6 separate regions of the Homo sapiens genome follow, and regions 2, 3, 4, 5 and 6 are each linked to region 1. Evidence: promoter capture Hi-C in human tissues and cell types (Jung and others, 2019). All regions are on one chromosome and are shown on one strand. Each heading gives the region's core, a stretch centred on a gene start or on the middle of the fragment in contact. The rest is flanking DNA. Distances are from core to core; before and after follow the strand shown.

What was found. Contacts are between HindIII fragments. The study calls those that stand out against the background at their distance.
Region 2: a contact is called between a fragment that was not itself captured here and the fragment with the promoter of BCL6 in region 1, in 4 of the 25 tissues and cell types used here (aorta, bladder, heart right ventricle and 1 more).
Region 3: a contact is called between a fragment that was not itself captured here and the fragment with the promoter of BCL6 in region 1, in 1 of the 25 tissues and cell types used here (lymphoblastoid cells).
Region 4: a fragment that was not itself captured here is called in contact with the fragment with the promoter of BCL6 in region 1 in 2 of the 25 tissues and cell types used here (IMR-90 fibroblasts and dorsolateral prefrontal cortex).
Region 5: a contact is called between a fragment that was not itself captured here and the fragment with the promoter of BCL6 in region 1, in 5 of the 25 tissues and cell types used here (IMR-90 fibroblasts, aorta, bladder and 2 more).
Region 6: a contact is called between a fragment that was not itself captured here and the fragment with the promoter of BCL6 in region 1, in 4 of the 25 tissues and cell types used here (IMR-90 fibroblasts, dorsolateral prefrontal cortex, psoas muscle and 1 more).

Annotation. Positions count from the first base shown.
Region 1 is chr3:187,742,783-187,747,314 of GRCh38, forward strand. BCL6 (BCL6 transcription repressor) reads right to left here and starts at 2,686. Exons shown (of 10, transcript NM_001706.5): 1 at 2,628-2,686. It overlaps BCL6-AS1 (BCL6 antisense RNA 1), which reads left to right and starts at 887. Exons shown (of 2, transcript NR_173091.1): 1 at 887-1,262; 2 at 2,462-3,244. RefSeq lists an enhancer at 1,799-2,324. The HindIII fragment of the contact is 4,851 bases long and covers 1-4,037 here.
Region 2 is chr3:188,633,668-188,638,199 of GRCh38, forward strand. The region is part of intron 7 of LPP (LIM domain containing preferred translocation partner in lipoma); the gene reads left to right. The region is part of intron 2 of LOC124906316 (a long non-coding RNA gene); the gene reads right to left. Among named protein-coding and RNA genes, the nearest start is that of MIR28, 53 kb to the right of the region's middle. RefSeq lists enhancers at 2,165-2,717, 2,718-3,269. The HindIII fragment of the contact is 6,552 bases long and covers 1-4,532 here.
Region 3 is chr3:188,615,626-188,620,157 of GRCh38, forward strand. The region is part of intron 7 of LPP (LIM domain containing preferred translocation partner in lipoma); the gene reads left to right. It overlaps LOC124906316 (a long non-coding RNA gene), which reads right to left. Exons shown (of 5, transcript XR_007096213.1): 3 at 2,540-2,687. Among named protein-coding and RNA genes, the nearest start is that of LPP-AS1, 49 kb to the left of the region's middle. The HindIII fragment of the contact is 7,946 bases long and covers 1-4,532 here.
Region 4 is chr3:188,552,818-188,557,349 of GRCh38, forward strand. The region is part of intron 6 of LPP (LIM domain containing preferred translocation partner in lipoma); the gene reads left to right. Among named protein-coding and RNA genes, the nearest start is that of LPP-AS1, 14 kb to the right of the region's middle. The HindIII fragment of the contact is 5,615 bases long and covers 1-4,532 here.
Region 5 is chr3:188,345,166-188,349,697 of GRCh38, forward strand. The region is part of intron 3 of LPP (LIM domain containing preferred translocation partner in lipoma); the gene reads left to right. Among named protein-coding and RNA genes, the nearest start is that of FLJ42393, 170 kb to the left of the region's middle. The HindIII fragment of the contact is 3,208 bases long and covers 493-3,700 here.
Region 6 is chr3:188,257,150-188,261,681 of GRCh38, forward strand. All of the region lies in intron 2 of LPP (LIM domain containing preferred translocation partner in lipoma), which reads left to right. Among named protein-coding and RNA genes, the nearest start is that of FLJ42393, 81 kb to the left of the region's middle. The HindIII fragment of the contact is 5,784 bases long and covers 1-4,532 here.

The sequences.
Region 1 (4,532 bases), core at 1,436-3,935:
CAGAGACAAATATCTTTTCGTCTTTTTTAAAAAAGTATATATTTTAAAGCAAGAATGTGATTTCATCTCTCTTCTTTGAGCTCATGTTTGCTACCTCCAGGAATAGCGTGTGGACTAGGGCCAGATGAACTTCAACTTGGGCTGCAGATTTACGAGGTTCTGTTCTAGTGCCAAAGGCTCTTGGTAGTAAATAGTGAGCAAAATAGATACCTGTCTCCTGATGGATCTTGCCGCCCCCTCTTTTTTTTTTTAAGTTATTTATTAAAACCACACACACCTTGCAAAGAAAAAGGGAAACTGGCAGTCTCTGTAGAGGAAGCCGGTGGCATCGCTCAGAGCCACAAACTGTATTTCTAAACAGCCCTTTCCCTGGTTCCCTCTCTCCTGCCCCACTTTTTTTAAAATCCAGACTGTAAAAAACACATCTACTGACACTCACTTTACTTTAAAAAAAGAAGAGAAAAAGTAAAGCGTTACAAGACTTTCCTCCTGGAAACTATAAACTGAAAAAAAAATCCATAAAAGATTAAATCCTGGCGGGTTGTGGGGTGGCGGGGGCCGGCGGGGAGGGGGCGCGGAGTGGAGATTGGCTCTCTGAGGTGGTCAGGGGCCCTGTGACAGCTTGGGACTTTCAGCACCTGGTTTGGGGTCATTTATCTGCTCAACTGTCAGGACCCCCCACCCCCAAACCCCAGCCACCAACACAACCATCGTAGAAGGGAACACAACACAGAGGGTCTTTTTTCATTTTTTTAAAAAATCGGTTTGGTTGTGTTTTTGTTTTCCATGGGGGAGCTTTAAAACTCATTATTGCAACACTAGTTCCATTTTTCGCCAGGGTTCCAATAACACGGCATCATAAAGGCAACGCAACCCACAGTTCTCAAGACATTTACCACGGTCACTACATCCGGCAGCGGGGTGGCCCCTAGCTCCTGCTGCCCCCCCGCCCTTTCTCCCCGCCCGCCCCCGGAGCTCAGCCGATTTCTGAGGCTCCAACTCTACCCACTCCCTCCCCGGGCCGCCGCCGCCGCGCCTTCCCCCATTCTTACTCCCTCGAGGAGAGCCACAGGTTGCAAATCCAACCAACCTCGCAATCTATTTTTGCAAAATCACTCACAAAGATCTCCCTTTCGCGCCCGCGCCCGCTCCTCCCGCGCCGGGTCCCCTCAGCCACGGCCACAAAGTGCCCTTCTCTCCTCCTGAGTCTTGCACATAAGGAACGCGGGCTGGGGCTCTGTTCGTCTTTCTCCTCGCCCAAGGTAAGGACCTCGGGAATCTGAAGCCTGGCGTCCACTACGCTCAGGCCCGCAGTTCCCTTTTTACAGAGCTTGCACCATGGGAAAAAATAAAATAAAATTTAGGAAAGGGAGGCAACAGCCATTGGGAGCCAACACAGAGTCACGCAGCGCCCAAAATACAAACACCGCAGCGGCCAGAAATCCCGCCACCTTTCTCGTTCTCCCAGGCTGTCCTGTCGAGGTTCCCTGAGTCCCCCCGCACACTGAAAGGCATCGCAGGTGCAGTGCGCACCCCTTTCCCACCCACCCCAAGAAGCCCTGTCCCGCCATCAGTCTCTCTCCTCGGGATGAGCAGGGAGAGCGCGCGGAGGTTCCCGACTCCCTCGACTACAACCAAGAAAGAATAATTTTCAAAGTGTTCAACATCCCCGCCCCCAAGCTCCCCAAAACACAGGGGCAGGGAACACCAAAACACTCGGCTCTCATTAGGAAGATCACGGCTCTGAAAGGAAATAGTAGACACGATACTTCATCTCATCTGGATTTATGACCAAAAAAACAAAAACAAAAACCCAAAGAGTTCGCTTGCATTTTTTCCTTCCAAATCTCGGTTCGGCTCGAAGGCAGGGAATCTAAAAGACCGAGGCCGATGGAAGAGAGCCAGCGGGGCGAGCGAGCGGGCAGCCTCCCTTTTTGCCTCCCGGAGTTACCCAGAAGGACAGGGGAAGGGAAGGAAGAAGAGGCGAGGAAAAAGAGGAGGGAGGGAAGCGGAGGCCAGGAGCGACGGAGCAAGGAAAGCAGTTTGCAAGCGAGAAAAGAGGGAAAAAACACAGCCGCACGAATCCAGAGAGATCACAAGCCGTACGCAAGCAGCAGCAGAAAGAGCGAGAGCGCGAGCGCGCGTCCTCTCCGCGGTCTGGGGCCAGACAGCCCCCAGACTAGCCCGAATCACCCCCCAAGCACTGTCTCGTCCTCTCTGCTCCGGCCGCCCCCTAATTCCCCTCCTTCCTCTCCTCCACCTCCTTTCCAAAAACCAAAACAACACAAGGGAGGGTGGCAAAAGCCTCCCCAAACCGGCCGATTCACTCAAAGACAACAATAATAATAATAAATACATAACAATCTATATCCTATGGTGGGAGAGACGTGGGACTAATCTTCGGCATTTATTTTAACACCTGACAGCTAGAATAAATAAATATATACATTTATATCAATAGATACACATAGAAAACTTGGAGCCAAAGCATTTGGCAAGAGCGGAAAAAAAAAGAATTAAAAGGTAAAATAATGATCATGAGCAGCGGCGGCGGCAGCGGCACCAGCGGCAACAGCGGCGGCGGCGGCAGTAGCAGCAGCAGCGGCGGCAGCAACAGCAATAATCACCTGGTGTCCGGCCTTTCCTAGAAACTTCTTGCATCACCACTTCTAAGAACCCCAGTTCTAAGAATCAACAGAGCTCAATTCTCGGAATTTGAGCTTCGGACTTTACCACTGCTACGTGGCAGGGGAGGACTTGGTGTCAGCTCTCCGAGATTTTTACTGCCCCTGGCCAACCAAAAGCCCTCAAAGCCACAAGATTTTTTCACTGGCCGGCATATTTCGAGGTCCTCATAAGCAGAGCGTCTCGGATTTGGAGGTTCCGGTTCGAGGCTCGAGGGGCCTGAAGGTGGCTCTCCCTCCCCGGGCCCAAGACGATGGTATGGCCTGCTCCGCCACCATCACGTGGGCTCCTCCTCTGTGACGTCGGCGCCTTCGCTGTAGCAAAGCTCGGCCTCTGGAATTCTGAGAACTAATTTGCTATTCGGTGACATAAGAGGGGGAGTGCGCTTTGCTTTCCCGGGGTCTGGGGCTAATTCCTTCTTTCTTACCCATAAACTCAGCAGATCGAGCTAAATGCACAAAAGGGAGCGAGAGGTTTGAACCACTGGGAAAAGTATGTTATATATATAGTAGGGTTAGAGAGGCGAGTAAGAGAAAAATAAAATAAAATAAACATCACAGCTCTTTCCAACTAGAATATTAGGCACCACGAGAAAAATATTTGCCAAGCAGTTTTCGGTGGGTTCATTTGCTTTATTTTTATTTAGGACAGGGGTTTTTGCTGTTGTTCTGGGTTTTTTTCTTTCTGGTGTGGTGGCTTGGGATTTTTGGTTTCTGTATTTTGATGGTTTATGGATTTTTGCTTCTGATTTTTTGCCTTTTGCAAGTTTGTGGTGTTACGTAAATCACAGGATCGGCATCGGTTGGATTTTTTTGTACGTGCCTTTTCTTTCCCTATCTAATCCCTCAAGCGTTTTAAAGATGTATTATTTCAATACTAATACTATTGAAAGAAGCTTAAATTTTTGGCCATATGTAACAATCCCAGCCCCCACTTTTTTTTTTTTTTTTTCCTTTGGTGCAATTTTCTTTTTCCCCCTTGGACTTTTGCTGAAGTGTGTCTCTCCTGCACTTCAGAGAAATGTTCAAAGGATTTGTTTTGGTTTGGTTTGTTTCTTTCCAGGACAGCAAGTGGTGGGTTTAATCTGTTATTGTTGACTCTTGGGAAATTTCTTGTTGCAAGAAACGTGTGTGTGGGGGGGAGGGTGGGGGTGGCGGGGTGGTATGTGTGTGTTTTCTACAAAATTCTGTGAGCCAAATACCTGTTTGTGTTTTGTTTTCTCTTAAGGTCTTGAGATTTTTGTTTTCGAGGCTCGTTTCAAGGTCGTTGTAAAAAAATCTCTTCAGTCTGTGTTTAAGAGATCAGCCGGAGGGAATTCTAAAGGCCTGCCGTGCCAGTATCACAGATACTGCCTGTATTTAGAACAGACTGCCACAACTACAATGCACTACACGCAGCACAGTCTTCTTAGCTTTGAAGCTGAGTTGGGGGGTGGGGTGGGGGGGGGGTAGAGAAGAAGGAGAAATTCTTTCCTTCTCTTTTTCTCTATTACTTTCTTTTTAAAGGCAATTGCAGTGCAGAATCATTTCATTGTGGGTCCTAGTTTGTTTGTTCAGAGCTGCTAGTTTCCTTATTTAAATGTTGGTTCGGGTTTTTTCCCCTCCTACTCATCCCTGAATAAGGGAGACTCTTGTTTCTTTTATGTCTCTCTCTTAAAAGAAGGGTGTGAGGGGAAAATAATATTTCAGATTCCTCAAGAATTAGCCCAAAATGTTTGGACCAGAAGCAGCTTTCAAAGGTCAGGCTGTTCTGAGCCTTGGCTATGAGAGTCCTTCAAGCGACTTATTAAATTACAGATGAATTCTTAAAGCTTCCACAAAATCTCGTCACTTGTTAATTTCTAATAA
Region 2 (4,532 bases), core at 715-3,214, 890 kb after region 1:
GTCACTCTTGCCAAATGGAGGTAATACAGTCACAATATTTACAAGTAAAATGGCAGGGATGTAATTGAAAGTACATCTATATATCATCTATATATCATTCATATCATTCTTCAAGCTGTTATCACAGTTCCATCTTTGACTGATGCCTCTTCAATATGTTGTATAATGTACTATAGAGTTATTCCTTTTTACTCTTTTGCTCATGGAAATAATTTGAAGGCTTTTAACCTTCTGATCTCATTTTTCACTTTGTTCCAGACATGGCTTACTCTCTCTGCCATGGAACTATCAGATAAAATGCATAATTTGATTAGACCAAAACTGTACTACCATCAGTCTGTCGGTCAACACAAGATATATTTTAAGGGGATCTACACAAAAGTCTGCATGAAAATATTCCATATAAAGAATAGTTACATAAACCTTAATAAAAAGAAAATACTGGGAAGCACTTAGTGTCTCAGATTCTGGAATCAAAGCTCTCTTTCTTTTCGTTTCTTTTCTCAGCGATTCAAATGACCACTCTGATATTTTCTTTGCCAAATTAACTTTAGCATTGGAGGGGCGTTTATATAGTATCTGGCTTAAAGCTATTATTTTTCTCATTTGCTCTGCAGACATTTATTGATCACTTACTGTGTGCCAGGCCCTGTGATAGGAATGGAGGTAGAGAAGACACAATCCCTTGCCCTCAAAGGTTTCAGTGACAGAAGAAATAGATGAAGAGAATGAGGCCTGAAGTCATTTGCTCATGGTCCTACAGGCACAGAGCAGGGGTGCCCAACCCCCGGGCCATGGACCTCTACCAGTCCGTGACCTGTTGGAACCAGGCTGCACAGCAGGTGGTCAGTGGCGGGCAAGTGGGCGAAGCTTCATCTGTATTTACAGCCACTCCCCATTACTCACATTACTGCCTGAACTTCACCTCCTGTCAGATTGCAGCGGTATTGGATTCTCATAGGAGCGTGAACCCTATTGTGAACTGCACATGCGAGGGATATATTTTGCGTGCTCCTTATGAGAATCTAATGCCTGATGATCTGTCACTGTCTCCCATCATCCCCAGATGGGACCATCTAGTTTTGGGAAAACAAGCTCAGGGCTCCCACTGATTCCACTGATGGTGAGTTGTATAATTACTTCATTATATATTACAATGTAATAGTAATAGAAATAGCATGAACAATAAATGTAAAGTACTTGAATCAACCTGAAACTATCCCCATGCCCCAATCCATGGAAAAATTGGAGACCACAGAACTGGTCCCTGATGCCAAAAAGGTTGGGGACCACTGGCATCGAGGATAGAATAGGGACCAGAAAGAGATTGTGCAGCCGTCCTTCTAGATCTGGTTCTTGTCAACCACTCCATCTCCCTAATGTGGGACATGGCAGAAGAGTTACAACTAGAGTAAAATAATTCTTGTTGTGAGTTGCAAACTTTATGGGCTCCATGTTTAAATTATATTATTAAAATATGTATTTTGTGTTTGATATTAATCTCATAGACATTTAGGAGAACGATTAGATTTCTGATGCCTCTAGGCATTCAGAAGTCTCTAACTCACATGCTGCATTGTCTGAAAGGTTCTATTTTGTGATAGTGCTTCTTGGGCATCAGTGGGGACAGCTTAGAAAGCTTGTCGTTGCATCTAAATAAATACTGAGAGTTTGGATATGTTTCTAAGTTCCTTTCCTTTGAACTGTGGGGCATAAATCTCACGAGACAGCTTGTTCTCAAGAGGTTACCAGTACGTTTGGTTCTAGTCTGTCCACAAATATTGTGAGAACAGGCTTATTCAGATTATTTTGACATGCTCAGACAAGGCGTTCCGAACCATGTGAGAAATGAACGTGTGTGTGCAAGGGAAATACACACAATGCTACTGAGCCTCTAAGAGGCTCCATTTCTCGTGTTTTGAGGAGTGGAAATTGTCTCAAAAAATCAGCATCTCAGCTCTCATTCCTAATGTATCAGAATCTAGAAGTTCTGGTTTTGGAATCTGATATAGTGAGAAATCAGAAGATGTCCTGGGGTGTGGGAGAATGATATGTTCTTTAGTCGAGTTTAAATGAGTTTATTCCTTAACTTAGCACTTCCCCAGTGGCACAATAAGCACTCAGTAAATGTTTATTGAAGTGAATTCCAATTCCTGATTTGAATTTAGTGTTGGAGAAATTCCAGTCACCGGGCTGATAAAAAGTGGTGTCAGATTACTGGAAAAAGGACTATGTGGAGAAGCTGCTTGCAAGTAATAAACTCTTTGTGTTAGAGTCACCTGTTTTACCCAATGCCTAGCCTAGATCGTTGAAAAGGAAATTGAAGGATGGTATTCAGATTAAGAAACAGATCCCTGGATTATGTTTAAGAATTTCTGGGAGGAGCCAAGATGGCCGAATAGGAACAGCTCCGGTCTACAGCTCCCAGCCTGAGCGACGCAGAAGGCGGGTGATTTCTGCATTTCCATCTGAGGTACCGGGTTCATCTCACTAGGCAGTGCCAGACAGTGGGCGCAGGTCAGTGGGTGCGCGCACCGTGTGCGAGCCGAAGCAGGGCGAGGCATTGCCTCACTCGGGAAGCGCAAGGGGTCAGGGAGTTCCCTTTCCTAACCAAAGAAAGGGGTGACAGACGGCACCTGGAAAATCGGGTCACTCCCACCCGAATACTGCGCTTTTCCGACGGGCTTAAAAAACGGTGCACCACGAGATTATATCCCGCACCTTGCTCGGAGGGTCCTACCCCATGGAGTCTCGCTGATTCCTAGCACAGCAGTCTGAGATCAAACTGCAAGGCTGCAGCAAGACTGGGGGAGGGGCGCCCACCATTGCCCAGACTTGCTTAGGTAAACAAAGCAGCCAGGAAGCTCGAACTGGGGGGAGCCCACCACAGCTCAAGGAAGCCTGCCTGCCTCTGTAGGCTCCAGCTCTGGGGGCCCAGGGCACAGACAAACAAAAAGACAGCAGTAACCTCTGCAGACTTAAATGTCCCTGTCTGACAGCTTTGAAGAGAGCAGTGGTTCTCCCAGCACGCAGCTGGAGATCTGAGAATGGGCAGACTGCCTCCTCAAGTGGGTCCCTGACCCCTGACCCCCGAGCAGCCTAACTGGGAGGCACCCCCCTGCAGGGGCACGCTGACACCTCACACGGCAGGGTATTCCAACAGACCTGCAGCTGAGGGTCCTGTCTGTTAGAAGGAAAACTAACAAACAGAAAGGACATCCACACCAAAAACCCATCTGTACATCACCATCATCAAAGACCAAAAGACCAACATTAGACAGATCAACGAGACAGAAAGTCAACAAGGATACCCAGGAATTGAACTCAGCTCTGCACCAAGTGGACCTAATAGACATCTGCAGAACTCTCCACCCGAAATCAACAGAATATACATTTTTTTCAGCACCACACCACACCTATTCCAAAATTGACCACATACTTGGAAGTAAAGTTCTCTTCAGCAAACGTAAAAGAACAGAAATTATAACAAACTATCTCTCAGACCACAGTGCAATCAAACTAGAACTCAGGATTAAGAATCTCACTCAAAACCACTCAACTACATGGAAACTGACCAACCTGCTCCTGAATGACTACTGGGTATATAACGAAATGAAGGCAGAAATAAAGATGTTCTTTGAAACCAATGAGAACAAAGGCACAACATACCAGAGTCTCTGGGACGCATTCAAAACAGTGTGTAGAGGGAAATTTATAGCACTAAATGCCCACAAGAGAAAGCAGGAAAGATCCAAAATTGACACCCTAACATCACAATTAAAAGAACTAGAAAAGCAAGAGCAAACACATTCAAAAGCTAGCAGAAGGCAAGAAATAACTAAAATCAGAGCAGAACTGAAGGAAATAGATACATAAAAAACCCTTCAAAAAATTAATGAATCCAGGAGCTGGTTTTTTGAAAGGATCAACAAAATTGATAGACCGCTAGCAAGACTAATAAAGAAAAAAAGAGAGAAGAATCAAATAGATGCAATAAAAAATGATAAAGGGGATATCACCACCAATCCCACAGAAATACAAACTACCATCAGAGAAACCTACAAACACCTCTACGCAAATAAACTAGAAAATCTAGAAGAAATGGATAAATTCCTTGATACGTACATGCTCCCAAGACTAAACCAGGAAGAAGTTGAATCTCTGAATAGACCAATAACAGGATCTGAAATTGTGGCAATAATCAATAGCTTACCAACCAAAAAGAGTCCAGGACCAGATGGATTCACAGCCGAATTCTACCAAAGGTACAAGGAGGAACTGGTACCATTCCTTCTGAAACTATTCCAATCAATAGAAAAAGAGGGAATCCTCCCTAACTCATTTTATGAGGCCAGCATCATCCTGATACCAAAGCCTGGCAGAGACACAACCAAAAAAGAGAATTTTAGACCAATATCCTTGATGAACATTGATGCAAAAATCCTCAATAAAATACTGGCAAAACGAATCCAGCAGCACATCAAAAAACTTATCCACCATGATCAAGTGGGCTTCATCCCTGGGATGCAAGG
Region 3 (4,532 bases), core at 1,213-3,712, 870 kb after region 1:
GTAGGGCCCTATTAGTGTTTAAGACATTGTACAGCTCAGGTGCATTTTCCTTTAAGGATGCATTTAACCTGCTAGATGTCATCTCATTTTTAAGACCAGAGAAAAAGAGAGCAGCATCTGTTGTTTCTTGACTTTTTAATAATAGCCATTCTGACTGGTGTGAGAGATGGTATCTCATTGTTGTTTTGATTTGCATTCCTCTAATGATCAGTGATGTTGAACTTTTTTTCATATGTTTGTTGACCGCATAAATGTCTTATTTTGGGAGGTGGCTGCTCATACCCTTTGTCCACTTTTTGATGAGGTTGTTTGTTTTTCTCTTGTAAATTTGTTTAAGTTCCTTGTATATTCTCGATATTAGACCTGTGTCAGATGGGTAGATTGCAAAAATTTTCTCCCATTCTGTAGGTTGCCTATTCACTCTGATGATAGTTTCTTTTGCAAAAGCTCTTTAGTTTAGTTACATCCCATTTGTCAATTTTGGCTTTTGTTGCAATTGCTTTTGGCGTTTTCATCATGAAGCCGTTGCCCATGCCTGTGTCCTGAATGGTACTGCCTAGGTTTTCTCCTAGGGTTTTTATGCTTGCTTTTGGGTTTTACATTTAAGTATTTAATCCATCTTGAGTTAATTTTTGTATAAGGTGTAAGGAAGTAGTCCAGTTTTAGTTTTCTGCATACAGCTAGCCAGTTTTTCTAGCACCATTTATTGAGTAGGAAATCCTTTCCCCATTGCTTGTTTTTGTCAGGTTTGTCGAAGATCAGATGGTTGTAGATGTGTGGTGTAATTTCTGAGGTCTCTGTTCTGTTTCATTGGTCTATATGTCTGTTTCAATACCAGTACCATGTTGTTTTGGTTACTGTAGCCTTGTAGTATAGTTTGAAGTCAGGTAGCATGATGCCTCCAGCTTTGTTCTTTTTGCTTGGGATTGCCTTGTCTGTACAGGCTCTTTTTCATTTCTATGGGTTTTTTTTCATTTCCGTATACGTTTTAGCATCAGTTTGTTGTTGTCCACAAAATAGGCTGCTATGATTTGGAGATTACCTTGAATCTTTAGATCAATTTGAAAAGAGCCGATACGTTAACAATACTGGGTTTTTCAATCCATGAAGATGGCCTATCTCTTAATTTATGTATGTCTTCTCTAATTTCTCTCATCTACATATCATAGTTTTGCATATATTTTGGTAAACTTGTCCTTAAGCACTTCAAATATTGGATGCTATTGTAAATGGTATTTTAAAATTTGTTTATAATCATTTGTTATTAGCATATAGAAATAGCAATAGATTTTTATATACTCCCTTTGTATCCTATAACTTGTTAAATGTAATAGTTGTACTAGCTTCTTTAATAAGACTTCTTAGGCAATTCTACCTGATCATTTTATCTGAAAATTGTTGATGCAATTGTTTATTTCCTTTATGGATAAGCCTATTCATCAACATTTTATGTTTGAAAGATTTGCTTGCTGATTGAAAAAGAAACAGCGTGATACAACTTTAAAGGAAATAAGTTGGAAAAAATAAGAACCTTTCCTCTCCACTTCCATAGGCTAGCCTACGTAAACCATCAGACATAGAAGCGATTTTCAGAATCATAAGTCTTAACCCCTTACATTTACAGATGAGAAAACTGAGGCCTGAAGAGTTACAGTGACTTTCAGAGTTATGTGGTTAGTAAATGACCTCATGTGAATGCAAAATGTAACTCTTCTATTCTGCAGTTCTTCTCTATATTGGTTAAGGATAGTTCAAGACAGAGGAGGTCAGAAGTAAGTGACCTTTAAAAGGTGTAATAATAACTATTGTCAGGATGATCTTATTTCCTATCTTTAGAACCCCATCATCAGTTTTGTAAGGCCACTGAATAATAGAAAATGGTTCCGATTCTGGTGCTCCCTATTCTGTCTCACAGCTGCTCCTGTGAAAACACTCGTTCATGGGCTCTGTGTAATTTTGACTCAGTCCATAATCTCTCTATCCTGATTTTAAAAGTTATCATCAGAATGGATGTGCTGGTATACTAAGAAATGTCTGTGAATATTATTTATTTATTTTACTTATCTAATCATTTTCATAGATTTGGTTGTTTAAAAATACCCCAGGTCTCAAATCCCTTTGGAAAGTTCAGCAAATCATTTTAACAGGTAATTCTGGCAATATGTAATTCTTTGTGTTTACAGAGTGAGAGAAATTCTATTTATCAGTGTTTTTTCTTTGTTTTGTTTTACTTCAGTTCTAAGCAAAGCAGTTATTTTGCTTATTGACATATTGATATATTCCTTTGGGAATCTCATTTCTTTCTTGGCCAGCTACAAACACTCATACTGTCCAATTTCAACAAGAGACTATGGTTATTCTCTTCTTCACCAAACAAAGAAATTTGAACCATTATTGATAAATAATTTCTGGTGAATATTAAAGCTTTGAAATGTTTTGCACACACAGTGTTAGGAAGTGTCTTAGAGTGAAAGACACTATTTTTACTACTATAGTATCAAAAGTGCCATTGTCCCACATACAAAGATTTACTTGTTACCTTAGTTCTTTGATTTTTCTGGAGTACAGCAACCCCAACTTTTAGAAGTACTCTTAACAAATGATACAGTGTTTGATCTGTTTCATCTTTGGACTTCAGAGAATGATCTTCAAATAATACAGTTTGGTTTATTTCAGAAGGTTGCTTCCTTAAAACAAAATTTTGAAAATATGAGATAATAACATTTAACTTCTTTTTCAATCACTTATAAAATTTACGAAACACTCTCATATAAGAAAAACTCTGTAAGTTGTTCAGAGGCAACTTCTTTAGTATCCTACCAATACTGAATACCTAAGGGAGGGTAAGAACTGACGTCGCCTCACTGCCAGCCCAGTGTTCTTTCCACTCTGTGAAACTTGCCTCCATTTGTAGCTGTCTGTGTTTGTATATATTAGCTCTATTTTGTGTAGAGTTGTCCAAACATAAAATATTCCTTTGGCGCAGAGTTTAGAGACTAAAACTTCTGAGTAGTATTTCCGGGACATAACATATATTTAACATTATTTGAAACCCAAGATTCAGTCAACATTGCTATTAAGAGTTAAGGAGCTGAAACTGTGCATACCCTAAGTCTGAATTCAAGGTAAGAGGTCCCTTGTTATTCAGTCTTTATAAGTGTTTGGTATATTTATGCCTCCTCAAATATGACACCATCTTTTTTTAAATTCACATTTAAAGATGATTGTAAAACAAGAAGGATAAGGTGTAAGTGTGGTAGTTGTTTTATTTATGGATTTATCAGTTAGCTGTTACTTATTTTTTGTGGTTCATAATGCAATTTTAACATAAGTCTGAATAAGTTTACTATAGATGATATTAGTAGGTTTTACCAGAGGAAACCATGCTTTTTTATTTTATTTTTTTCTTTTTCTTTGAGACAGAGTGTCACTCTTGTCGCCCAGGCTGGAGTGCAGTGGTGCAATCTGGGCTCACTGCAACCTCTGCCTCCCGGGTTCAAGTGATTCTCCTGCCTCAGCCTCCCAAGTAGCTGGGATTACAGGCATCTGCCACCAGGCCCAGCTAATTTTTGTATTTTTGGTAGAGACGGGGTTTTACCATGTTGGCTAGGTTGGTCTCAAACTCCTGACCTCAGGTGATCCACTCACCTTGGCCTCCCAAAGTGTTGGGATTACAGGTGTGAGCCACCACGCCTGGACAGAAACCATGCTTTATAATCCTGCTACCCACCCCATCCAAAGCACACAAAATATTAGTTAAGTAAGCTACTAGAAGACAACTGAGGCTGGTGGTCTCTGCAGGGGCAGAAAAATGGGAACTGGAGAGGAGTTCAGGAAGGCAGCCCAGAGAATATGAAGCAGGACCCAGCACACAACAGCCTGTGGGCCACATGTCACTTGCCACCTGATTTTGTAAATAATGTTTGCTTGAAATACAGCCATACTCGCTTCATTCCATATTATCAATGGCTGCTCTCACACTATAACAGCAGAGCTGAGAAGATGCAACAGAGACCGTATGGCCTACAGATATTAAAACATTTTCTGTATATCATTTTACAGAAAAACATTGTTGACTGCTGGTCAAAAATATGGGAAGAACGTCATGAAATTTAGATTCTTATTAAAAGTTCTTGAACATCCCTGAACTATTTAATATTATTTCTTGTCCAGCAGATCCTGAATCTTAAATTAGAAGTTGTGACAGTAAGTGGAAATTTTCAGGGAAGGAAGAACAGAATATCAAAATCAAAAATTAACATGCTATGTGCAGAGTAGGTTCTATATCCCTCCTTTTTTTCCCACCCTGGTAAACTCTTATTTAAACTTCAAGATCTGTCTCTAATATTAACTTCTTGGAGAAGTTTGACCATTCTTCCAGTTCCCACATATTATTAGCTTATCTTTCCTCTGATTTTTTCTCATAGCATTTTTTCATTCATTTACTAAAATATGCACTAAAATATGCACCTCATTCAGTATTTTTATATAATAACATTTTAAGATAATTTGCATACAGTATAATTCGCCCA
Region 4 (4,532 bases), core at 1,154-3,653, 810 kb after region 1:
ACCTTAATCACATCTGCAAAGTCTTTGTAATCAACATGTTCACAAGTTCGAGGAATTAGAGTGTGTACATTCTTGGCGGGGTGGGGAGGGCTGTTCTTATGCTTATCACAGTCTGTTTTTAGGAAAGTAGATAAGTTCACAACGTTAATGCATGGAGGCTGAGATTGTGAGAAGAAATGAAGCAGCCAGTCATAAAGTGTGTTTCGTGCTAATGTAAAGAGTTCTGAAGTTATTCTGATGGCCATAGAGAGCTATTCAATTCTACCTAGTAGAGGAATATTTAATCTATAATGATGTCAAACAATTGAAGTGGGTAGCTTGTGGTACCCAACCATCCTTCGCATTTTAAACATGGGAAAATGAAGACTATTTTTTGACTCAGTATACTTGGGACACATATTAGTGCCATGTACCTATCATTATTTTCCCATATCATGTGTTTTTCTACCCTTTCCTCCTACTTGTTTTTCCTCTAGCCTGTGAGAATGCCATTCATGATTTATAATGTTCTGGGTAAAAAGTTCAGGTAGACCTACATTAAGCAAAGGTAACTCAGATTTGGAAGACTGAAGCTTGGTAGCAGGGAGGGGGTTACTTAGGACAGAGAGATGCCTTGGAATGGCCGCACATTGAGCTCGTGCATGTTGGAGCTGGCATTACCCATGTGAGGAGGTGGATGACCTGTCTATATATTCAACACTAGCTTTTCTTTGAGATCCCCACAAAACAGATCTAGGAAATCTAATGAAAGAATTATCCCTGCTACACCGTGTTTTTAACATAGGAACGGACAGTTAACTTGTGTGTTTGTTCAAGAATGATTCATAATGCAGAAGATGAACTGGTGAATAGAAGAAGCCTAGTAAATTGGAAGATTCTCTTGATGAAACAGAGAAATTGAGATTTATTATTCAGTCACTTCCAATTACACTGTTGTGTTGCAGAGGAAAGCAGCTAAACAGGATGTTGGCTGGTAACACCAGCAAAGTGGAATCAACCTCAAAGGAGATGGTGTCAGAGTGGTGTTCAATGCCTGAGCTTCTACCGAGTGAGTCACTTGTGTGAAAATGTCTTGACACAGATAGAATTGAGGTGCCCACACTATATCTGATCACAGAAATGTTAATGCAGAATAGCAAACTGGCTTTCATCTTCATGGGATTGCAGGCTGGGGGATAAAAGGGGGTGCATTTTTAAAGGTCATCTCTATTGCTTATGAGAAAACAATGTATCACATCCCATGCATCTGTGAGACTGTATATCAAGAATCAGAAATAAATACATTTGAAGGAAAACTGCAAGTTGTTTCTCACGTGTGAATTTGATGCTTTTTTTTAAAAAAAAGAAAGATTTTCTGGAAGAATTTAGCCTCCTGAAAACTTGTTTCTTCTGTGTTGTAGTTGATAATATCTACCACCCACTGTGGTGCATGGAGAGGAAAAACCTTCTATCCCCTACTTTATGTGTTATTGATGTGACATAATTTTTCAGAATAGCCACACAATTTCAAATGTGACTTCTTTTCTAACTTGCAAATAGAGCTGACAACAGCAAGATATGTCCTGTAAACAAACCCCAAAAGAATATTTTTGAACAAGTTGTAGTTCAATTTATACCAGATTATGGAACACTAGAGATTTACAGTGATGCGTTCTTTTATTTAGATGGAATAGGAGAACCCATAGAGTTGAAGCTGTTTGTCTGAAGGTTTGCAGCAGATCAGTGGCTCTGCCAAGCCTGCAACTATCATCACCTGACTCCAAGTTACTCTCTTTCTAGTCCAGCACAGCTGCCTCCCAAGTTTAATAGTCTATGACTCACAATCCAAATCTATGGTGACATATAATATTTTACTTTGATTCCAAATCAACAAGCCAGTTTTAGAAGTGCTTACACTGCTGCATTACTTTTTATACTATTGGGTTCTTCAAGTTGAGTCTTATTTCTAGAACTCCAATAAGAATAACCAGAGGAGTCATTTATTTTGTTATTATGACATATTTATTGAAGACTTATTGGGTGGCAAGCTGTCTTATAGAGGGTGAGGGTACAGCTATGCATAAAACAATGTGTATTTTCTTAAAAGAGTTTATATTACTGTGGGAGAGGCATAGTAAACATGTTAGGTTCTATAGAGAAAAATAAAGCAAGATAAAAGTGAAAGAGTGCTTTGGGTTGAGTGGAGCCATAGTTGCTATTCTGCACAAAGTGGTTAAGAAAAGCCTTAAGAGGAAGAGATATTTGAGGAGAGATCTCAAGGAGGTGAGGAAGTGAGCTCTGCAGATATTTGGGATAAGCATGTTATAGACAGAGGGAAGCACAAGCGTGAAAAGTCTGAGAAGATCATGGCTGGCATCTGGCATTTTTAAGAAAGAGTGAAGTAGCCAAGGGTGCCTGAAGCCAAGTGATCCCAAGGAAGTGAGGAAAAATAAGGTTAGGGAGGTAGCAGGGGCCCTCATGATCACATAGAACCTCATAGGACCTCTTATTCTTAGTTTAAGTGAGATGGAGAGCATTTGGAGTCACATTATCAGGCTTATGTTAAGGATCACTCAGGCAGCTTTCTGTAGGCTATGTGGTAATCCAAACCAGAAGTGACAACACAAACTAGAAATTACAATCAAACTCAAAATGATAGTTGGTTGGACTTGGTAGGTATAGTTGGTGTTGGGGAGGGGATAAGAAGTAGTGGGATTCTGGATATATTTCCATTGCAGCCTCAACAACTATTGTGAGCAGATCAGATGTGGAATATAAGAGTAATAGAAGAGTCAAGAATGGCTCCTAGGTTTTTACCCTGAGCAAGGAGAAGAATGGAATTGCTATTTAGTGAGATTTCTGGAGACAGGAAGATTAATTTTGCTTCTGTTTTTGTTGTTTAGAAGAGAAAGGAGAAAGGATGATCAGCCATTTGGCTTTGAATATGTTATATTTGAGCTATCTTTTAGAGATTCGAGTATTGGTTGAGTAGACAGCTGTATATTTGAGTCTGGGGTACAAGGGCAGGCTCTTGACTTGATATAGGTGTAGGTGTCAGCAGATATACATTTAGAGCTTTGAGCCTGGATCATATCACCTAAGGTAATGGAGGAAGCCATGAATATTTTGATGTCATGGAGAAAATAGAGGAACTATTAAAGAATGCTTGGGACAAGAAACACTGAGGTAGGAGGAAATGCAAAGGACAGTGGTGTCCAGAAATGAAGTGAAAAATGTGCTTCAAGAGTGAGTGTGTGATCAAGGTATCCACACCATTGGATCAAATGCCATGAGGATTAAAAGTTGGACCAATGGATCTAGATCTTAGTTGAGGATTGCCTTGATAAGAACAGTTATCGTTACTCTTCTGAGCTATTTGCTCACACTTGCCTTACTTTTTGTCAAAGTCGAGGCCCCTCTAAATATTGGTTAAATACAAGGGCTCTGGAGTTGCCCTGTCTGAGGTCAAATCCTAGTTTCATATTTACTAGTTGTTTGAGCTTGGAAAGTTTAATTAACCCTTCTGTGTGCTTCAGTTTTTTTTGTTTGTTTGTTTTACTTTTGAAAGGAAAGAAATGATATGTTTTGTCTCATAGGTTTATTGGGAAGATTGCAAAAATTAAACATATACCATAGTGTCTGTCATATAGTAAATTACCAATAATTGTTAGCTCTAGTGATTAAGAATAAAATGATCACTAACATCTATAAAATTACACCTGACTTATATTTCCTTCTTACCCTGAAAATCATACAAACTCTTTCTAGAGTTGTGCTTGAGTCGGTTGCACTATTTTCTGCCTTTTTGTTTTTTTGGTTTGATTTTTTTTCAGTTTTTTTAATCATTACATGAATTAACCTCATTATGATCTAATTACTTCCACATAGTTCTCCAGATTGTGAATGCTCTGCGAAACCATAGCTTGTTCATATCTTAGAACCTTATGCAAGGGTTGGCACTTTTGGCACTTCAGGCTTGAAATCCAGGTTTCTGAATGCCCTGGTGATTGATTGACATTTCACCTTCAAGGTCATTCCAATACTTAATGTAGAAGTGATAGGGTAAACTCTTAATTACTGGAATTACCTATAAATAAATAAATGACTTAAATTTCCTAAAATAATAGTTAATGTCTTGTTAATCTGAGTTCCTTTTCTCTGTAAATTATTTCACAGGCATGACCCTCTGTAATTTTCTCACCTTTTAAAGTGATCCTGAGGTATATCATGCAGGATAGTTGACCTTTGGGATTGGTGTTCTTGCCCTACGGTAGATAGCTTTGTGAAGTCTTCCCTCCCTTTCTATTTCTGGGACCTAGAACTTAAAATGGCCTCTTATGTTGAATTCTTCTCATTCATATTTCTATAAACTCAAATAATGGTGCCTTTAACATCTTCAGACGTGCCTTCATGCGTTACAAAAAAAAAGATGGTTTGATATTTGTTTCCTTTATCTTCTTTGAAATGCACGAATAAAGGTAACTATTTACAAACCTGAAATAAAGCAAAACTGTGTTTATTAGATTCTTGAAAAGCGGTTTTGCAAATCTAAA
Region 5 (4,532 bases), core at 847-3,346, 600 kb after region 1:
TATAAACTATCCTTTCACTTCCTAGTTCTTAAAAGGCCATTATCTTCCAGGCAAAACCAATTTCATTTTCAGCATGGGGATGTGAGATGTCCTTAAACATAAATGGACTCCAGGTATCTTCATTAATTTCATGAAGACATGGCACAGAGGGTTCCGGCTACCTTCTGCTTTCCGTGTTTATTAAAAGACTGTGGATTCCCTTGCAGTTCTTCCTGTAAGAGGTTGTTTGACGCTGACATCATCACTCTCCTCCACCCGCCTCCTGCCCTTTTCTGAATCAGTGAATTATAGGAATCTGAGAATGAGCTCCTGTTTCCTGCACATTGTTGGGGAACATTAAAAAAAAGAAGACAGATGAGGGATTTATAAGCAAGAGGACAGAAGAATAATAGCCAACACAATGAAGTCTAGTTCAAGGCCTGCGATTCCCAATTGCTGGGCTACACAGCATTAATAGCAGTGTCTCTCACCCTTTCAGACCCTTCTCTCTTATTTCAGACCCTTCTGCCTTATTCTTGTGGGGATGGGCTGGGACTGAGAAACAGCTAGTATAATCATTGCCAAAATGAAACTCACATGTACATGGGGGCTTCCAGGTCTGGAGAAGAGTGTAGTAATTGTTACCCATCCGATAGAAGGTGCTTAGAGACCACTGGACCTAAGCACTTACCTGGAACCTCACAGTACAGAGGTTCAAAGAGTAGAAATCAGTTGACTGAGTCTGAGGTTCAAATCCTGGCTCTAATTAATTTGCTATGAGTTTAGTGAATGCCTAACTTTCCTCTGAGCTGCACTTTCTCCATCTGTGAGATGGGAGGAGGAGGGTGGCATAGATGATGTCAAAGGAACCCTCTGATTTTCATGAGTCTCAGATTTGCCCAAGGACCTGCAGCGAATGTGCAGCCAAGCCAGATCTTGAATTCAGAGCCCCTTTTTCTGGTTTGAGATGGTCATCATTATAAGTTCCACTACCCATACTTTCCAAACAGTATGTTTGCAGCTTTCAGCCTTGTTTTATTAAATCTACTTTTTCTCTTTTATTTGACAGTCCCTTTCTGTCCAGGGACCTGCCTAAAGTAGCAAATCTTTTTTTTTTTTTTTTTTTTTTTTTTGAGACGGAGTCTCGCTCTGTCACCCAGGCTGGAGTGCAGTGGCACGATCTTGGTTTACTGCAGCCTCCGCCTCCCAGGTTCAAGCAATTCTCCTGTCTCAGCCTCCCAAGTAGCTGGGACTACAGGTGCACACCCCCACGCCCAGCTAATTTTTTTTTTTTTTTTTAAGTAGAGATGGGGTTTCACCATGTTGGTCAGGCTGCTCTCAAACTCCTGACCTCAGGAGTCCACCCGCCTCGGCCTACCAAAGTGCTGGGATTACAGGTGTGAGCCACCGTGCCTGGCCTAAAGTAGTAGTTCTTAATATACGTGTGTGTATGTGCGTGCACACGTGCATACACATGATCCTGTGTTTGGGGCAGATGTGAGGATTATGGAATTTTCAGAAACTCAGATGAATTTATGAAATAGTTGGAAAATGCAGAACTCCAGAAAATGCTATCAACAAGTTTAGGAGGTTTGTAGATGCTCTGAAGGCCATCCATGAGTTAAGCAAAAGTTTTCATTCTATGTGGGAAGTATGAGATGACATTTGAGTGGCATACATTTCCTTTTGCTGTTGGATTTTCCCCGTAGTCACCTATTGTTATACTCTGAGTGTTAGGCTCGTTTTGTAGCATGACTTTTGGCATGTATGTATCTCAAACTATTGAGTGATATTTTAATATTGAAACTCTTATTCTACTTCATTCATTCACTCATGCATTCAAATTCAATTTTAATTCAGAATTTGCTAAATGCTAGACATCTCAATACATTATTGTATATAATCCTATAAAATAGAAAATTGCTAGGTGCTCAGAGAGGTTGAGTAATTTGCCCAAAGTTTTACAGCTAATAAATATAAAATCTGGATTTAAATCCGGATTTACTCCAAAATATGTGAATACCTCCAGAGATAACATTGAAGACAAATAGAGACAATGATGCAAGTTCATAAACCATGGAAATTTCTGGTAGAAAATGGTAGATGGGCCCCAGAGGAATACAGAGAATGTGTACTATGGGATTTTAGGAAGGGACAAGATCATACATTATGAATTACTTCATATCATAATTCGTTAACTACGTGTTTATCTGGCTCCTTAAGAAAGAATAAAAAAAGCTAGATAATCATATGAAACACATTATGCATAACTCAGTTTTTTTCTTGTTCTTCAAACTTCTGTCAGGTTAGTGCTCTCAATATCTTCATTTGGTAAGTGAGATGAGGAGATGAAGAGTAGTTAGGGTCATAGTGCCCTGATCATACTGAGTTTTCACCTAAATAGGAATTTCAGTGCTTTGGGTCATCTATTTTGTTCCCCTCCTCCCGGCCTACCCCCCCATTATATTGAGCTTGAGACTTTTAACAGAGATAACTTCTGACCACGCACAGATCAGCACAAATGCAGATGTGAGCAGCTAGAATTTGGATGCTGCCAAATTGTGATGACTGCCACATGTGTGAAGCTAAAGCTTAGCACCTGATGACCCACTGTGAGTGTGTGGGGGGGCCAGAAGAGTGAAAGGCAGGTCAGAGATGGAAGACGCCTCGGAGTTTCTCAATGGCAGTACCTTCACCTTGCAGATGCAGAAATGGAGGTGGTTAGAAGGGGTAAGACTTACTAAAATTCACACAGCAGGTTAATGGCTCTCTGAGAATAATGGCAAAACAAGAACAAGGCTTTATACCAGCAATCTACAGTAGTATCTACTTTTATTTCCTACCTTTCCGTTGGCATATACTCACACTGATAGGCTTGACAGGCAGATAAACCTGTATTTGAAGGTCAGCAGGATTAGTTGTGTGGCCTTGGATAAGTTACTTGATTTACTTGGGTCTCAGGTTTGTTGTCTGTAATAGAAACCATACCCTTTTTCTTTTCTTTCTTTCTTTTTTTTTTGAGATGGAGTTTTGCTCTTATTGCTCAGGCTGGAGTGCACCGGCATGACCTTGGCTCACTGCAACCTCTGCCTCCTGGGTTCAAGCGATTCTCCTGCTTCAGCCTCTGTAGTAGCTGGGATTACAGGCATGAGCCACCACGCCCAGCTAATTTTTTGTATTTTTAGTAGAGACAAGGTTTCACCATGTTGGCCAGGCTGGTCTCAAACTCCTGACCTCAGGTGATCCACCTGCCTCAGCCTCCCAAATTGCTGGGATTACAGGCATGAGCCACCGTGCGTGGCTGAAACCATACCCTTTTAACAGGACTATACCAGTGTACTGTTCAATATACAGAAATACTATCACCCATCTGATTAATAATCCTTATCACAGCCCAATGAGACAGGCACAGATGTTCTGCTTTTCAAGATTCTATTTCCTAACTTCATCTTGACAGTTGTAAGTCTCTTGCTTCTCAAAGTTTGGTCTGAGGACCGGAAGCATCAGCATTACATGGGAGCTTGTTAGAAATGCAAATCTCAGATCATACTCTAGAACTTCTGAATGAGAATCTCTACTTTAACAAGAGCCCCAGGTAGTTCATATGCTCATTAGTGTTTGAGAAACATTCACTTCGGCCCTCGCCCTATTTCAAGGCTATTGCTGTGGTGTGCTGACAATGCCTGGCATGCTGCCAGCATTCTTGGGGCATGCTGTACCATGCCTTGAGATAGCGGGGTCCGGGGGGCGGGGATGCTGTGAAGTCACTCCTTGGGAATAATGGAAGACTGGGTTGAAGGGATCCAGCAGGCTTTATCTTTTTAACACCCTTCATTTCCTTAGAAGTTACTATTCAGAAGGGGTCAAACTGGGATTGGATTCTAAGTCTTTCTGATCCAAAGTCCATGTTCTTTTCATTAAACCACGATGTCTCAGTCAAGAGGAATGCTGGGTTGTGGGTGATAACTGTTCATTCCCTGTAGTGTGAATATTTCCACACTGGCTGCTTTACCCTATTACTCAATTCCTAGAGGGGAAGAATTTTTTTAAAAAAATTTAAAAAGCCTGAGTTGAAAGCCAGGATCCTGCAGCTTAATCAGTTATTTTTGCTTTTTAATGAGGGTGACTATTGTGAAATAAGTAATTATTAATTACTCAAAACTAATGAAATATTTTAGTTTCCTTGCTCAAAAAGCATATGGATGCTAAAAGAAAGCATATGGGTGCTTTCTGGGAAGCATATTGGTGAATGGACAAATTACAGTGGTGCCAATATGCCTTTGCTGTCTGGCTGGGGCCATCAAAACGTGTGCTGGCATCTGAGTCCTCGTGTGTTTAAAGGGATTTTTTAAAATTCCCATTTGATAAGTGCCTGGGGTTGCCTCTGGAGTTACACAGCGCTGTCTCATCAATCTTTCTGCCATGCTTTCACTCAGACATTACTGGCTGAGTATAAACTCGGTATAAACCTTTGCTGTAAGTAGCTTCTGTGGCTCTTTCTTTCCAGATGCCTCCTATCCTCTGCAATAGGTTCAGTGGGCCTGCCCCATGGA
Region 6 (4,532 bases), core at 593-3,092, 510 kb after region 1:
GTGCTAGAACTGTCCCTGATGCACATATAGTAAGACTTTAATTTCCATTTTCCCTGTCTTATGAAAAGAAGTGTTGATAAGCTCATTAATTAGCTTTCTGCTCATAGCTTTTTTCTGACTGCTAATGACTTCTTGAGGATGGGCAGGCTTTGATGAGCTGTGTGGTCCTGGGAAAGCCTTGGTGTCCTCTTTTACCTGCACAGTGAGGGTGACGGTCGTGTTACCTCCTGAGGCCACCTTTCAGCTTTGCCATTCTGTCATTTGACAAAGACTGAATAGAGAAAAGACAAGATTTAACGACAGTTAAAGTCCAAGCCAGTTTGTATTTGCTGAAAGACACAACTGAGGGAAAGGAACTGACATGTAGTTTAAACAGACTGGTTTTTTGTTGACATGGGAAGTGTGAATAATACTTCTTCCTGGTTTATGAGATATGAAATTGGTTGTCTACCTTATCTGTTTCTCACTTTTGTTCTCAGTTCATAGTTTGGTCATGGAATGCAATTTTGAAGACAACTTCAAGTTGTTTTTTTGCTCAGTAATCATAGTAGTATTTACTGTTGTTCACTGGGCACCCAGTCTGTGTACACACATCATTCCTAATCTTAGAAGAAAAACAACGTGCAAGACATGTGTTTTCTTTCCCACTTTGCAAATAAGGAACTGGGGCTCAAAGAGATTAAAAGACTTACTTAAGTTCAATTAGAAAGTGGCAGAGCCAGGATTCAAATGTTGGTTTGCCTAACTGCAAAGCCTATATCCACCTTCCACCCAGTGCTGCTACAGCATTAAAGCCTGTAAATTGAATTCCACACACTCCTACTTTCACCTGTACTATTACAGTGATAAGTAAAACCAGCGCTGAGCCCTACTAACAAGGTGTCCTTGATTTGTGTGCTGATGCTCATGACACTTCTGTGTGGCATCTGCTGACAGGCCCACGGGGCCCAGATGTTCCCACTACAAAGAGCTCATCCTGGACTCCCCAACCAGGGAAAGAGACCTGAAAAGGAACTGGTTTGTGATTAGGGATTATTGTGATACTTGAAGTGAATGGTCAGTCAGTTCTTCCCATTTATTTGAGTTCTTACTTCCCTTCCCTTTGAACATTTCAGTCAAACTTCTAACAGTGACTTTCAACACTGGCTGCGCATTAAAATCACTTGGGGAGGTTTTGTTTTGTTTTGTTTTGAGACAGCGTCTCCCTCTGTCATCCAGGCTGGAATGCAGTGGCATGATTATGGTTCACTGTAGCTGCAACCTTCTAGGCTCAATCAACCCTCCTACTTCAGCCTTGTGAGTAGCTGGGAATACAGGGACACGCCACTACGCCTGGCTAATTCGTATATTTTGTAGAGACAGGGTTTCACTATGTTGCCTAGGCTGGTCTCGAACTCCTGGGCACAAGTGATTCTCCCACCTTGGCCTCCCAAAGTGCTGGAATCATGGAGCTTTTTGTTTGTAAGCATGTCAGCCCTCACCTTCCAGAGATCTTGATTTGAATGGGCTAGGTTGGGGTTCTCGCTATTAGCGCAAAAAAAAGTAAGTACTGAAGGGATTCTAAGATTCGTCTAGAGAAGACGATCACCGCATTAGGGGGCAGAAAGTCCACTTTTCATTATTTTGTTGGTACAGTATACTTTTTTTCTGACTCTATGAACCCTCAATCTTATGATGTTACCATTCCATTGAAGGGTGGGATTTATTCACTGAGAACATTTATATTTTTTTGAGATGTCTTAGGCTGTGGAGAGGGTGTTACAGGGATGGACACAGATGCTGAATTTAGTGGCCCCAGAGAAGAGGAATTAACCACTTTGGATTGGATTATTGGGAGCAACCAAAAGTCAGTGCTGTGGCTTTTGCTGTCTTCCCTTGTAATCTCTTCCCCTCACCAGATTTTCAACACAGAAGGGGTGTATTTTCTAGTTATGGGGTATTCACAATCACATCTAATAATTTTACTCCAGAACATACTATGGCTTGTTTATACTAGCTTGAATATTTGTAGTCTCTTTGATTTTTGTTTGCTAATTTAATTTACTATTGCATATAAAAGAATGGCTTCCATGGAGATAATCACCGTGGCTCCCAGAGTGCATCCAGAGACATTTGCCTTGCTTCTGTGGAAATACACCCAAATTCCCCAGCATGACATTGAGTGTTCACCCCACACCTGACACCAGTCTCTCTTGCTCTAATTAAGGCCACTCTTTACCATTCTTGGGCACCAGCCAGATGAACTATACCCTGGTGTGGGATCTGCCCGATCCTGCTGAGACATTAACTCTGTCCTGAAGCTGTTTGTCCTTCCAGCAGCTAGAAATAATCTTTCCTTTCCTAGAACTTCCACACTGCATTGAGCAGGAACACTTGTAGAACTTCTCACATTGTACCTCAAGGTATTCTTATTTATGCATGTATATAATTTCTCCCCTTCTACTACTGTAAGCTTCTGCAGGGTGGGGCAGCCTCTTCTTAATTTTGATATCTACTGCTGTGCCAAGAATATTGTAGGCATTTCCTAAATTATTTTTCCCCCAGTGTATGTGTTACTTTGTTCAATTCAGCAGTTGTCCAAAGCTAATCTCTTGAGCTATTGGTAGCTTTGGTGAACATTTGGAGAGGACTACTGTGATGGCGTAAAATCCGGTGACCTAGTTACAGAATATCCCCTGCAGGCTCACTGGTAAGGAAGGCTCATGTTTAAACTCAGTGAAAGGAGAGCCTGGCTTATTTATGGTGGTGGTTGTTTACATGTCTTTAAATGACCTTCTTTTTTTTTTAATATAAAGGCAATATATTCTCATAGAAAATTCAGAAACTGTAAACAGGGTTAAAGAAGAAAATAAAAATCAACACTATCACTTTCACCTATTTATTATTCTTATTTTATTTATTTATTTATTTATTTTTAAGGCAGAGTCTCTTTCTGTCACCCAGGCAGTGGCACGATCTCGGCTGACTGCAACCCCTGCCTCCCAGGTTCAAGCGATTCTCCTGCCTTAGCCTCCCAAGTAGCTAGGATTACAGGCATGCACCACCACCAAGTCCGGCTAATTTTTGTATTTTTGGTAGAGACAGGGTTTCACCATGTTGGCCAGACTGGTCTTGAACTCTTGACCTCAAGTGATCCGCCTGCCTTGGCCTCACAAAGTGCTGGGATTAGAGGCGTGAGCCACTGTGCCTGGCCACTTCCACCTATTATTAATGAAACCTGTCCTATTTAACAAAAACGATAATGTGGGGTGTCTTGTGCTTGGAGCTTGGAGAAAGGAATTTGCCTCTGTTTTTTTAATGACTTATGGCAAGGCCAGTATGACCAGTAAGTGGGCTGTTTATTATTATTATTATTATTAATCACCATTGTCACTGATAGAAATTGTCACTATTGTCACTGATAGAAACCAAGATAGAAATTGTCACTATTGCTATAGCCCCAAGAAGGACCTCATGGCTGCATAACGATTGAGCACCTTATATTTACACAATGCTTGGTTGTTGTTTTTTAAGGCAACTGTGACTCAACAACAGCTGTTTGAGAACAGCTCCATCCCAGATGAAATCAGAGGAACCGAAGTTTAAAAAGAAAGTGTTTCTGGGCTGGGCGCGGTGGTTCACGCCTGTAATCCCAGCACTTTGGGAGGCTGAGGCGGGCAGATGGTTTGAGGTCAGGAGTTTGAGAGCAGCCTGACCAACTTGGTGAAACCCTGTCTCTACTAAAAATACAAAAAAATTAGCAGGGCGTGGTGGTGCATGCCTGTAGTCCCAGCTACTCAGGAGGCTGAGTCAGGAGAATCCCGTAGTCCCAGCTACTCAGGAGGCTGTCAGGAGAATCCCTTGAACCCGGGAGGCGGAGGTTGCAGTGAGCTGAGATAGTGTCACTGCACTCCAGCCTGGGCCACAGAGCGAGACTCCATGTTAAAAAAAGAAATGTTTCTGAGCACTAAAGACAATTTGAACAAGGCAGAAAAGTACAAATAGGAAAACAATAATCTTACTAGATTGTTTGTTTTTGAGACAGCATCTCCCTTTGTCATCCAGGCTGGAATGCAGCAGCACGATTATGGCTCACTGTAGCTGCGAACTTCTGGGCTCAATCAACCCTCCCACCTCAGCCTTCTAAGTAGCTGGGACTATTCTGTAGTGATAATCCTTGTTAAAGTTTTGGAAAATACCTTTTTTAGAGTCTCTCTTTCTCTCTACACAGACACACACACACACATACACACATGCAACTTTTATGTGAATGACGGCATTTACAATTTACGTAAATTACTGCAGGTGCTATCATTTATTTTTTTCACTCAGCAATATGCCTTGAAAAAATTTTAAGTCAATCAACATACAGATATTTGTCATCTTTTAAATAGCTATAGATTTTCGCTCAGACTCAAAGTCTAATTTTTAAAGAAGTGACTGTTATATTTAAATCATATATAGCTTCATGATGAAAAAAGGAAAAACAATTCTTGGGACCGGACATGGTGGCTCATGCCTGTAATTCCAGCAGTTTGGGAGACCAAGGTAGG